Linked DNA regions of Homo sapiens: regions 1 and 2 are each linked to region 3. The links are contacts of gene promoters, found by promoter capture Hi-C in blood cells and fetal thymus (Javierre and others, 2016). All regions are on one chromosome and are shown on one strand. The core of a region is centred on a gene start or on the middle of the fragment in contact, and the rest is flanking DNA. Distances in the headings are between cores, read along the strand shown.

What was found. Contacts are between HindIII fragments. The CHiCAGO score rates a contact against its expected background, and 5 or more counts as called.
Region 1: a fragment that was not itself captured here is called in contact with the fragment with the promoter of CEACAM18 in region 3 in 8 of 17 cell types (megakaryocytes, monocytes, M2 macrophages and 5 more); the score reaches 14.5 in megakaryocytes.
Region 2: the fragment with the promoter of SIGLEC10 here is called in contact with the fragment with the promoter of CEACAM18 in region 3 in 4 of 17 cell types (activated CD4 T cells, non-activated CD4 T cells, naive CD8 T cells and 1 more); the score reaches 7.6 in activated CD4 T cells.

What each region holds. Positions count from the first base shown.
Region 1 is chr19:51,511,638-51,515,264 of GRCh38, reverse strand. No RefSeq gene overlaps it. Among named protein-coding and RNA genes, the nearest start is that of SIGLEC12, 12 kb to the right of the region's middle. The HindIII fragment of the contact is 2,005 bases long and covers 796-2,800 here.
Region 2 is chr19:51,415,814-51,419,326 of GRCh38, reverse strand. It overlaps SIGLEC10 (sialic acid binding Ig like lectin 10), which reads left to right and starts at 1,685. Exons shown (of 11, transcript NM_033130.5): 1 at 1,685-1,782; 2 at 1,862-2,245; 3 at 2,377-2,661; 4 at 2,970-3,017; 5 at 3,160-3,429. The coding sequence starts at 1,746. SIGLEC10-AS1 (SIGLEC10 antisense RNA 1) reads right to left here. Exons shown (of 3, transcript NR_164125.1): 1 at 3,195-3,513; 2 at 2,597-2,898; 3 at 1,130-2,195. RefSeq lists enhancers at 1,456-1,525, 1,586-1,755. The HindIII fragment of the contact is 3,908 bases long and covers 1,247-3,513 here.
Region 3 is chr19:51,477,289-51,480,692 of GRCh38, reverse strand. It overlaps CEACAM18 (CEA cell adhesion molecule 18), which reads right to left and starts at 2,154. Exons shown (of 6, transcript NM_001405061.1): 1 at 1,999-2,154; 2 at 13-360. The coding sequence starts at 2,050. The HindIII fragment of the contact is 9,749 bases long and covers 1-3,404 here.

The DNA of each region.
Region 1 (3,627 bases), core at 549-3,048, 35 kb before region 3:
CAAAATAAGCAGAAAGTAGTAAGCTGTATGAAAAGTTTTGAATACTTATAGAAAATGGACAAATTTCTGGGAAAAAATGTGTTACCTAACGCTGTAGGCATGGTTCAGTTTGTATCTGTCCTTCTGACCTCTCAGTCTCAAAATGAAAAGCCAAATGTATTTATGAAATTCTGCCACTAGGGGGAGTTCCTTCAGTCCCGCTCTCAGGTTCACTGTGGTTGAGTTTGTCATGATGCAAAAGTCCACTCCTTGCTGTGCCAGTTGATTGAGCAGAACCACTTGAAAACCAAGATGAAATGTTTTCCTCCTCAAGCAATGGCCATAAAGAACTGCCCATGAGGTCACACATGTGATTTCATGAAAAAATAAGGCAATATCCCAGGAGGAGTTGTAGGAATCTGGGTCACCTGCTCATGTCACTTGGTTGTGATTTCTGGACTTCTTGAAGCCCATCTTGAAGTCAGTTATATCATATCCAAATTCACTTCATAATGGATTATTGCTTCACATGCCCAACCTTTTAGCTTGATGGGTCACAGAGCACCTACTTCATGATGGGCAGTTTGTATTATATATTCGCTTCATATCCCATAGTAAGGGTATCAGTCTCTACCAAGGCCTGGTAATAAGTCAGAAGCTCTTTCTCAAGAGATCCATCATGTTCTCAAAAACAGAGCATGGCTTTGCAACAAAAGTCCTAGGGGTCTTCACTCTGGGGCACACCGACATTCTTAATTATTCCAGATAATTCAAGTATAATTTAATCTTGAGTTATAAACCTCAAGTTGTAAAGCTTCTTATACTACAGCCTGGACCTGCTGCAGAGCCTTTCCTTGAACTGAGAACAACTCCAAACTGGAAGTCTTAAGATTTACGTAGTAAGTGGGTTAGAGCATCCAATCATAGTTGTACATTTCCTCCAAAATCCAAAGGTGACTATCAAGAATTGAGCTTCTTTGGTAGGGGTAGGATGACCTCCCATTTTATCTCTGATCCTCTTTAAAGCTAATGTGCTCAACTTATCTCTAGGGATTAAGTAATGACACATTGCCTTTGACAATTCCATCATCCTGATTGAAAGCAGTGTGATTATATCCGTTGCAGTATTTCTTTCTGTCATCCCCAATAAACTGATCATAAATCTTAATCCTGTGTACAAAGCACCTTCACAGCAACACCTAGATTAACGTTTCATTGAATGTTCTGGGGACTATAACCTAGAAACATTGGCACATTAAACTGACCATCATAAGTATGTCAATATCAGAAAATATATCTTTTACCAAACAAAGTGTTAATGGAGATAAAAGGGCCAATTTTTTAAGGATTAAATATTCAATATACTAGGAAGATACATTAGAAATTTACCTGCACATGATAAAATAGCTTCAGAATATGTAAGGCAAAAATAGGCAAAGAATGGCTTCAGAATATATAAGGTGAAAAAAAATAGGCTGAACCAGGTTAGTCTTCACAGAGCTTTTCATGGACACTTGTGCTGTCTTTACCAGTATACTACTTGAGGGGTAAGAGCAGAGGAGATGAGGGTACAGGTTGAACTTTTGTCATTTTTTATTTTCCAACATTTTTAACTCTCTAAACCTTTGGGTTATTTTTTCTCCATTATGCCAAGAAAGTTCTGACATCATCCTCGTTAAATTTGGGTCATTGTTGAGTCCATTTTCATTGGAATATAGTGATAATATTGTTTCAATCAAACATAAAGCAAATTCCTTCATCCACCTGAGAGCTTCTTGAGCCAAAACATTGTATCTGTAATCTTTTGTTAGTACACCCGTATCAATATATTTGGCTAAGCCAGTGTAATATTTTATCTTTGTTGGTCTAAGATTCCTAGTGTCCACTTTAACATATATTTCTCAGGTGTCTGCTGATATAAATCAGAGAATCCAATAATTCCTTTAGAATGTAAGATCTTCTCAAGGGTCGGGCATTGCATTTACCCCATGGAAGAGACTTGCATTTTATTCTTGGTCTGGAATGAATAGTGATTGGGATGAGTTTTGAAGAGACTCAGCACCTTCCTGTGCTTGGGCAATCTCTCCAAGCAGAATTATTAGAGTCTTCCAGTAAGGAAAGACTAATCTCTCCAGACCAAGGAAATCAGGCTATATTCTGGTATCAAGAGAGTTTCAAAAAGTCTTGGGGCAAGGGGGTTGAAGATTTTCGACTTTATCCAAAGACCATGCATAGGGGTCATCCACATGTTCTTGGGTACTTGATCTTCATGCAAGACCCCTTTCCAAGCCCAAGCCCCTCAGTCCTTTCCAATAACTGCCCTAAATTTCCTATAAGAAGCGCAGACAAATCTTTAAATTCAAATTATGTCGTAATTCTTCAATAAATACAATTAAATTTGGGGTCTGATTTTTTTTTTTTTGCAAGATTGTCCCCATAGTCAAATGACATGAAATTGTTTGAAGTCATAAGGCATTTCTGTAGTTTACAACCATAACTTGACCTACAAGGTAAGACCTGAGCTTGGCACTTGCCCTTTGCAGGTTTTCCAGCAGAGTTAGGAGCAGAGAGTTTACCACACAGTCTTTGTGGTCATTAATGCTCACACAGCAGTGAATAGCATCGCCATTCGATCCTTCAAGGCATTTGCTTAATAGCCACTCAATCATAGGTAATTAATTAATCATGATGGCACTGTATGTGGAATTCTACGAAACATTTAAAGGAGAAATAATATCAAACTTTCCCAGACTCCCTCAGTAAATAGAGAAGGAGAAAACACTCATTTCATGAGGCAAAATTCAAACCTGATACCAAAGCTTCATGAGGACGTTACAAGAAAAGAAAACTGCAGATCACTGCACCTCATGAACATAGAAAAGTCTTCATTTAAATATAAGTAAATCCAATCCAACAAATAAAATTGACGTAATACATGATGACCAAGTGGGGTTTCACATCCAAAAATAAATGTAATTCACCACGCTACCAGAATAAAAGAGAAACATCAAATGTGCCTCTTGATTACTCCAGAAATAACGCTGGGCAGAATTTAAAACACATTTATAATTTAAAACAATCTCAACAAATTAGGACTAGAAGAGAAAAACTTCGATTTGATTAAGAGCATCTAAAAACCTGCAATTAGCATCATACGTAATAAAGAAATATTGAACACTTTTTCCCCTAAGATTGGGAGAAAGGAAGGAATATCTGCCCTATTATTTCTATTCGACATTGTAGTATAGGTCCTAGCCAGTGAAATTAACTAAGAAATAAAAAATACAAGGCCAGGCACGGTGGCTCCTGCCTGTAATCCCAGCGCTTTGGGAGGCTGAGGCGGGTGGATCACAAGGTCAGGAGTTGGAGACCAGCCTGACCAACATGGTGAAACCCTGTCTCTACTAAAAATACAAAATTAGCCAGGCGTGCCAGCACATGCCTGTAATCCCAGCTACTAGGTAGACTGAGGCATGAGAATCGCTTGAACCCGGGAGGCAGAGGTTGCAATGAGCTGAAATCACACCACTACACTCCAGCCTGGGCGACAAGAGCAAAACTCCATCTAATAAAAAAAAAAAAGTTTAACTGACAGGCCGTGTGGATAGATTGTATATGGGAATTGGAAATCAGGATGACACTGGGATG
Region 2 (3,513 bases), core at 436-2,935, 61 kb after region 3:
CCTATAGTCCCGGCTAGTTGGGAGGCTGAGGTGGGAGGATCGCTTGAGCCCAGAAGATGGAGGCTGCACTGAGCCATGATCACACCACTGCACTCCAGCCTGGGCAACAGAGCAAGACCTTGTCTCAAAAACAAAAAACAAAAATGCCATGGATGAAAGAACCAGGACAGGGCAGAGGCTGGGTCATCTCCTCCAGGAGGCCTCTCCTGACTTCCCTCCACCAGGAAGAGCTGACCACTCCTTCCCCAGGTCCCATCCTGAATGTCTGTCCAGCATCCAGTTCATTTAGGGGACCTTCTGTACTTTGTTTCTAAGAATCTTCATTTGCTAACCTGGGGCCCTGGAGCTGACTCACCATGGAGGATTCACCTCCAAGTCCCCCTAAAGCTCAGTGCTTGATACCCAAGGTATGTGGAGGTTGAAGGATGAGTTCTGTGTTTCGGTGTGACCCAAACAGAGTCATTTCAGGAAGAGCTCAGTGAGGGGAAAACATCTTGTAGAGTTTACTCCATTCATTGCAAATTACCCCTTCCCTAGTCTGTTCCCCCCACTCTGCCCCTCACTCCCGCCTTCCTCAAACTCTTCCCATCAGCATTAGCTTTGGACATATGTGTTCTAATCCCAATGGGTGTCCCAATTGAATGACAGAGGAGGAAGGGAGACTGGGAAGTGGACTAGGGCCTGGTTGGGGCAGGAGACTGCTTCTGGGGACCAAGGGTCAGTGAGCTCACCAGGAAGCATGAAGAGGTGGAGCTGACACCACCCTACGGTGGCCAGATTTAGAAAAAAAGAAATTCAACATGCTCAGTTAAATTTGAATTTTAGGCCAGGTGCGGTGGTTCACACCTGTAATCTCAGCACTTTGGGAGGTCAAGGCAGGTGGATCATTTGAGGTCAGGAGTTCAAAACCAGCCCTGCCAACATGGTGAAACCCCACCTCTACTAAAAATACAAAAATTAGCTTGGCGTGGTGGCGCGTGCCTGTAAGCCCAGACTCAGGAGGCTGAGGCAGGAGAATCACTTCAGCCTGGGAGGTGGAGGTTGCAGTAAGCAGAGATTGCACCACTGCACTGCAGCCTGGGTGACAGAGTGAGACTCTGTCTCAAAATATAATTAATTAATTAATTAATTTGAATTTCAGATAAATTTATTTTGCTTTCTGGTATAAGTATATCCCATGCAGCATTTCGGACATACTTATACCAAAAAACATAAAATAAAATACTTTATATTGTCTGTGAAAGCTTTAACCAGGCATCCTGCATTTTACCTGACAAGACCAGCCCCCTCCAGTAACGGTCCCTTCCCCTGTACCCACCACCTCCACCACCAGTGGCCCAGATAAGGGTAGCTCACTGTGGACTTCTCACTTCTGCTTTTCCGATGACCCAGGGCCCAGAGGGAGAGCCCCCACCCCACTACCCCACCCCCAGCCAGGCCCCCAGGATAGACACAAGCCTGCCCTCTCCTCCTACACAGGGAGCTCTGGAAGGACCAGCTCAACAAGCCCAAGGCCAGGCTGGGCCCCCAGGAGACCCAGAGGACAACTGGGCAAGGTGGGCCGGAGAGTGTGGGGGAAGGCAAAGGAGTTCTGTGAGCTCAGCGTCTGAAGCTCATTTCATGCATCAGGCCCCAGGGCTCAGCTTCCGCCTTCGGCTTCCCCTTCTGCCAAGAGCCCTGAGCCACTCACAGCACGACCAGAGAACAGGCCTGTCTCAGGCAGGCCCTGCGCCTCCTATGCGGAGATGCTACTGCCACTGCTGCTGTCCTCGCTGCTGGGCGGTGAGTGGGCCAAGGGCCGGAAAGGACCTGGGGCGGAGCTAGGGCTGGGGTTGCAGGTTGAGCCTCTGTCTCCCCACAGGGTCCCAGGCTATGGATGGGAGATTCTGGATACGAGTGCAGGAGTCAGTGATGGTGCCGGAGGGCCTGTGCATCTCTGTGCCCTGCTCTTTCTCCTACCCCCGACAGGACTGGACAGGGTCTACCCCAGCTTATGGCTACTGGTTCAAAGCAGTGACTGAGACAACCAAGGGTGCTCCTGTGGCCACAAACCACCAGAGTCGAGAGGTGGAAATGAGCACCCGGGGCCGATTCCAGCTCACTGGGGATCCCGCCAAGGGGAACTGCTCCTTGGTGATCAGAGACGCGCAGATGCAGGATGAGTCACAGTACTTCTTTCGGGTGGAGAGAGGAAGCTATGTGAGATATAATTTCATGAACGATGGGTTCTTTCTAAAAGTAACAGGTATGGAATGGGGTGGGAACCCCTGCCTCTCACACTGGGGAGGGACCCTGGGGACAGCCTATGGGCTGAGCAGAGAGGGCTCTCAGGGACCCCTGCAGCACAAGAATCTCCCACCACGGTCTCTGTCCCAGCCCTGACTCAGAAGCCTGATGTCTACATCCCCGAGACCCTGGAGCCCGGGCAGCCGGTGACGGTCATCTGTGTGTTTAACTGGGCCTTTGAGGAATGTCCACCCCCTTCTTTCTCCTGGACGGGGGCTGCCCTCTCCTCCCAAGGAACCAAACCAACGACCTCCCACTTCTCAGTGCTCAGCTTCACGCCCAGACCCCAGGACCACAACACCGACCTCACCTGCCATGTGGACTTCTCCAGAAAGGGTGTGAGCGCACAGAGGACCGTCCGACTCCGTGTGGCCTGTGAGTGTGGCCTGGGAGGGTGGGGTGTGCAGACAGCCCCGGTGGGTGGGGAGGTGGAGGAGCCCAGTGGGACAGTGAGCGGCTCCCAGCTCAGGAGCATCCAGGGAGAGGAAGCTGTGGGGTCCCAGGATGCCGCCGCAGCCCTGGGAGGGGGATGGGAATGGCGTCTGGTCCACACACGTGAGCCCTGGCGCTGGTTGTCACTTGTCTTCCCGGGATAGTCCCACTTTCTTTTCCCTGAGGGAGTTTTTTCCAGGTGTGAGGAATAAATTGTCCCTCCCTGAAGCCAGCTCACAATCTTGTTGCAGATGCCCCCAGAGACCTTGTTATCAGCATTTCACGTGACAACACGCCAGGTACTGAGGGCCGTCGGGCTGGGGCTGGGCCAGTTGTCTTTAGATGAAAAGGCTTCAGGGGATGAGGGGATGTGCTCCTCCCTGTACCCCTTCTCTCTTTCTCCCTCCCTTTCTCTCTTTTTTTTTTTTCCTCCCACTCCAGCCCTGGAGCCCCAGCCCCAGGGAAATGTCCCATACCTGGAAGCCCAAAAAGGCCAGTTCCTGCGGCTCCTCTGTGCTGCTGACAGCCAGCCCCCTGCCACACTGAGCTGGGTCCTGCAGAACAGAGTCCTCTCCTCGTCCCATCCCTGGGGCCCTAGACCCCTGGGGCTGGAGCTGCCCGGGGTGAAGGCTGGGGATTCAGGGCGCTACACCTGCCGAGCGGAGAACAGGCTTGGCTCCCAGCAGCGAGCCCTGGACCTCTCTGTGCAGTGTGAGTGTGCCCAGCAGGGGCCTGGAGTCCATTGGGAGGGCAGAGGGATACAGGGGCTGGGCTCAGGGTCCCAGAGCTGAGGGG
Region 3 (3,404 bases), core at 905-3,404:
CTGCTAACCCACCTAGAACCTCCAGCCAGCCGGTTGCTCTTTGGGTCTCATTGCCTGCAACCACCCGAACAGTGTAGTTTCCCGTGTCATTTAATGCAGTCGGCCTGATCAACAGGCTGCCTTCTCTGTTCACTCTCTCCCTGCCAGTGTACATGGGCCCAGGCTGCTGGGCACTGGGCGGTTTGTGGCTGATAATCATGTTTCCTGCGCTGTCGTTTGCACCCCAGTACCAGCTGTATTCCTGAACATCCTCAGGGACCTTATCCAGGGCCACGACAGTCCGATATCCCTTGATCCCCAGGGTTTGGGTGATGAAGATTTGGCCAGAGGCCTGGCAGATCCCACAGGCCAGCAGACTGGCTGAAGAAGACAAGGAAAAAAGACAGAGAGAAATTCACAAAGAGATTCAGACTGGCTGAGAAGACAAGGAAAAAAGACACCATCCGGGAACGATTCCCAGAGACGCTGGTGAACCAGGCAAGAGTTTCTGGCTCCTGGTAGAGTCCCCAGCTTGTCCCCTCCTGTGCCTCCCCTCAGCCCCTGCCGTGGTCCATTTTACCCTTATCTTCTCCCAGGCCCTCCTCGCTAGCCACACAGCCTCCAATCCATCCTCACATCACAGTTACGTAAATGTTAATAAGCCCAAGTTGCGACCCTGTTCTCCTCTGCTCAAACACCTTCCATGGCTCCCCAGTGCTCTTAGGATACAGTCCAAACTCTTAGGTGGGTATATGAAACACTCTCAGCCAGAGCTGGTGTTTGTGACTCATCGAGCCTCCTTGTGGTGCACACCTACCCCATCCTGTCCCCACTATGCACCTTTTACTCATTTATTCCTGTAGTTATTTATCAGAAGACATGACTGCCACGCTGTATGCCCCAGGCCTCTACATAGCTCTCTTGGTGCACCACACCTTCTCCTAACTCCAGGCTTCGCACACGCTGTTCCCCATTCCCGGCAGGGACTCCTTCTCCCTCCTCTCCATCTGCACCCTCCTTGCTGACTCACTTCTATTCATCACTCAGGTCTCAGCTTGGATGTCTCCTCCACCCCAGCCTGGGTCAGGTGTCCCCTCTGGGCTCCCCCAGCTCCTCCTGGGCTCCCCCCATCCCAGCCATGACCTCTGGGGGTCCTCAGAGTCTGGGCACATATCTATATCTCGCCCTGGACTGTGGGCTCCAGGAGGGCAGGACTGCCCTGTCTCAGTCACCACTGAGTCCCCAGCGCCCCTGAGCACAGGCTGGACACAGGGGGAGTTCAGTAATGATTGTCTGGGTGAGAAATACTCCCCCGAGAATTTCTACATGTCTTTGATTTTGCATCTAAATTCACTGGAGTGGGTGTGAATGGAGGCGGCAGCCTGTTACCACATATGACATGGGCAGTTGTCCACTGCCCTGTGAACCCCAAGCCTGGGCTATGTGGAGGAGGCAGAGATGCCTGAGACCCCGGCTCTAGGCCTCACGTATGGACACACTGGACCTGTTCAAGGACAGTACACGTGGTAAAGCAGGACAGTTGTGCTTGTAGGGGGCACAGAAGGTCCTGGGCAAAGGTGAGGGGCTGGGAAGGAATCTGGCCTGAGAGGTGGGGGAGGGGATGGGGCAGATTGGGGCACCCAGTGGGAGGTGAGTGCAGGGAGGTGAGGGTGAAGGTCCAAGCTCCTGATTCCTGGGCGTAGATAGAAACACAGTTTCTCTCTCTCTCTCTCTGTGTGTGCGCGCGTGTGTGTGTGTGCATGTGCGTGTGCGTGTGTGTGTAACACCACATGTGTGGGTCTGTGCAGGGGTGTGTCTAGGGGCAAAGTGTGCCCACGTGTGTGAGCTCATGAAAGTTGTGCTGAGGGTCCTCCCCCTTCTCCTCTCCCCGACCCCTGCTCTGGGAGTTTCTTGATGTGCCCGTGGATGGGGATGGTCCCAGCCCCCTCCCCGCCGCTTTGCTCCTAGCTGCCCTTCCCTCAGTCCTGGGAAGCTCATCCAGCATCCAGCATCTCTTACCCATGAGGAAGACCCTCCTCCACAGGCTCCATCTGGGTCTGGAAAGGTCCATGAGCTGCCTGGGGTCCTCCAGGAGGAGGGGTCCCTCCAGAGACACAGCCACCTCCTCTGCTCCCTCCAAGACCTGTGTCTCCTGGCACAGAGGCTGCCGGTCTCGTCTCCCAGCCTTCAGGGCGGCCTTTCCTCCCCAGGGTGCACTCTGACCAGCAGGGGTGGGGCCTGGGGAAGACGGCTCTTGAGAGCCCAACCTTATCTTTATGGCTTTATGTTGCCTTTAGTTCATTATTTATTTACTTATTTTTATAATAATTTACATTTTTTTCTCTGGTCATGAAAAAACGGAAAAACACAGGCTCACTGTTGGGAAAACAAAGAAAACCAGAAAATACAGCCAAGTGCCTCAAAGATAGGACATCAAACTCCTCAACTGTATGTCCTGTTTCCATTTGGTTTGGTTTTCCTATGCAGGGCCCAGCTTTTTTTTTTTTTTTTTTTTTTTCACGGAGTCTCGCTCTGTCACCAGGCTGGAGTGCAATGGCATGATCTTGGCTCACCGCAACCTCGTCTTCCGGGTCCAAGTGATTCACCTGCCTCAGCCTCCCGAGTAGCTGGGACTACAGGCTCGTGCCACCACACCCAGCTAATTTTTGTGTTTTTAGTAGAGACGGGGTTACATCATGCTGGCCAGGATGGTCTTGATCTCTTGACCTCGTTATCCGCCCACCTCGGCCTCCCAAAGTGCTGAGATTACAGGTGTGAGCCACCGTGCCCGGTGTAGGGCCCAACTTTTAGACTGCCTGGGGCTGTTTTACAACTGGCTGCTTTCCTCCTCAACAGTGGACTATTTCTCTATGTCACTAAATATTCCTCCCATGACCATTGTGAATGGCTGCAGGGAATGCTCTTCTAGACCTGAACCAGTGTGTGTATAACCAGATCCCTTTGTGAAAGTGCTCACAAGCCAAAAAAATCCCTGAGAAATACAGTGGGGAAGGCTGTGAAGCGAGGGCTCTCTGACAACAAAAATTTTCACAGAAGACGCTGCAGAAACCATAGTCTTGCACAAAAGCCATTGCTTCCTTCCACCAAAAAAATACTTCTGTGACAAGTATTTGGACAGCAACCTCCGGTCCAAACTTGGACTGACGTCACCCTCATTAGGGATCCTTGTAGCCTAGGGTAATTATCTCAAACCATTTATGGGGTCCTCCTCATTTTTCCATTGAAAACCCTTTGTGTTCTTTTACCTCCCTGAATATGCACGTAGTTTACTATAGCACCCAGATTCCCATTGCAATGCCCCATTCCTGAATACATATCATTTTCTTTTAGAGAGCTTCTCTCTGTTTGTTATTTAGGTTGACACTTTGTTGTTGGAGGGTCAGGCTGTTTCTAAAAACAGGGAT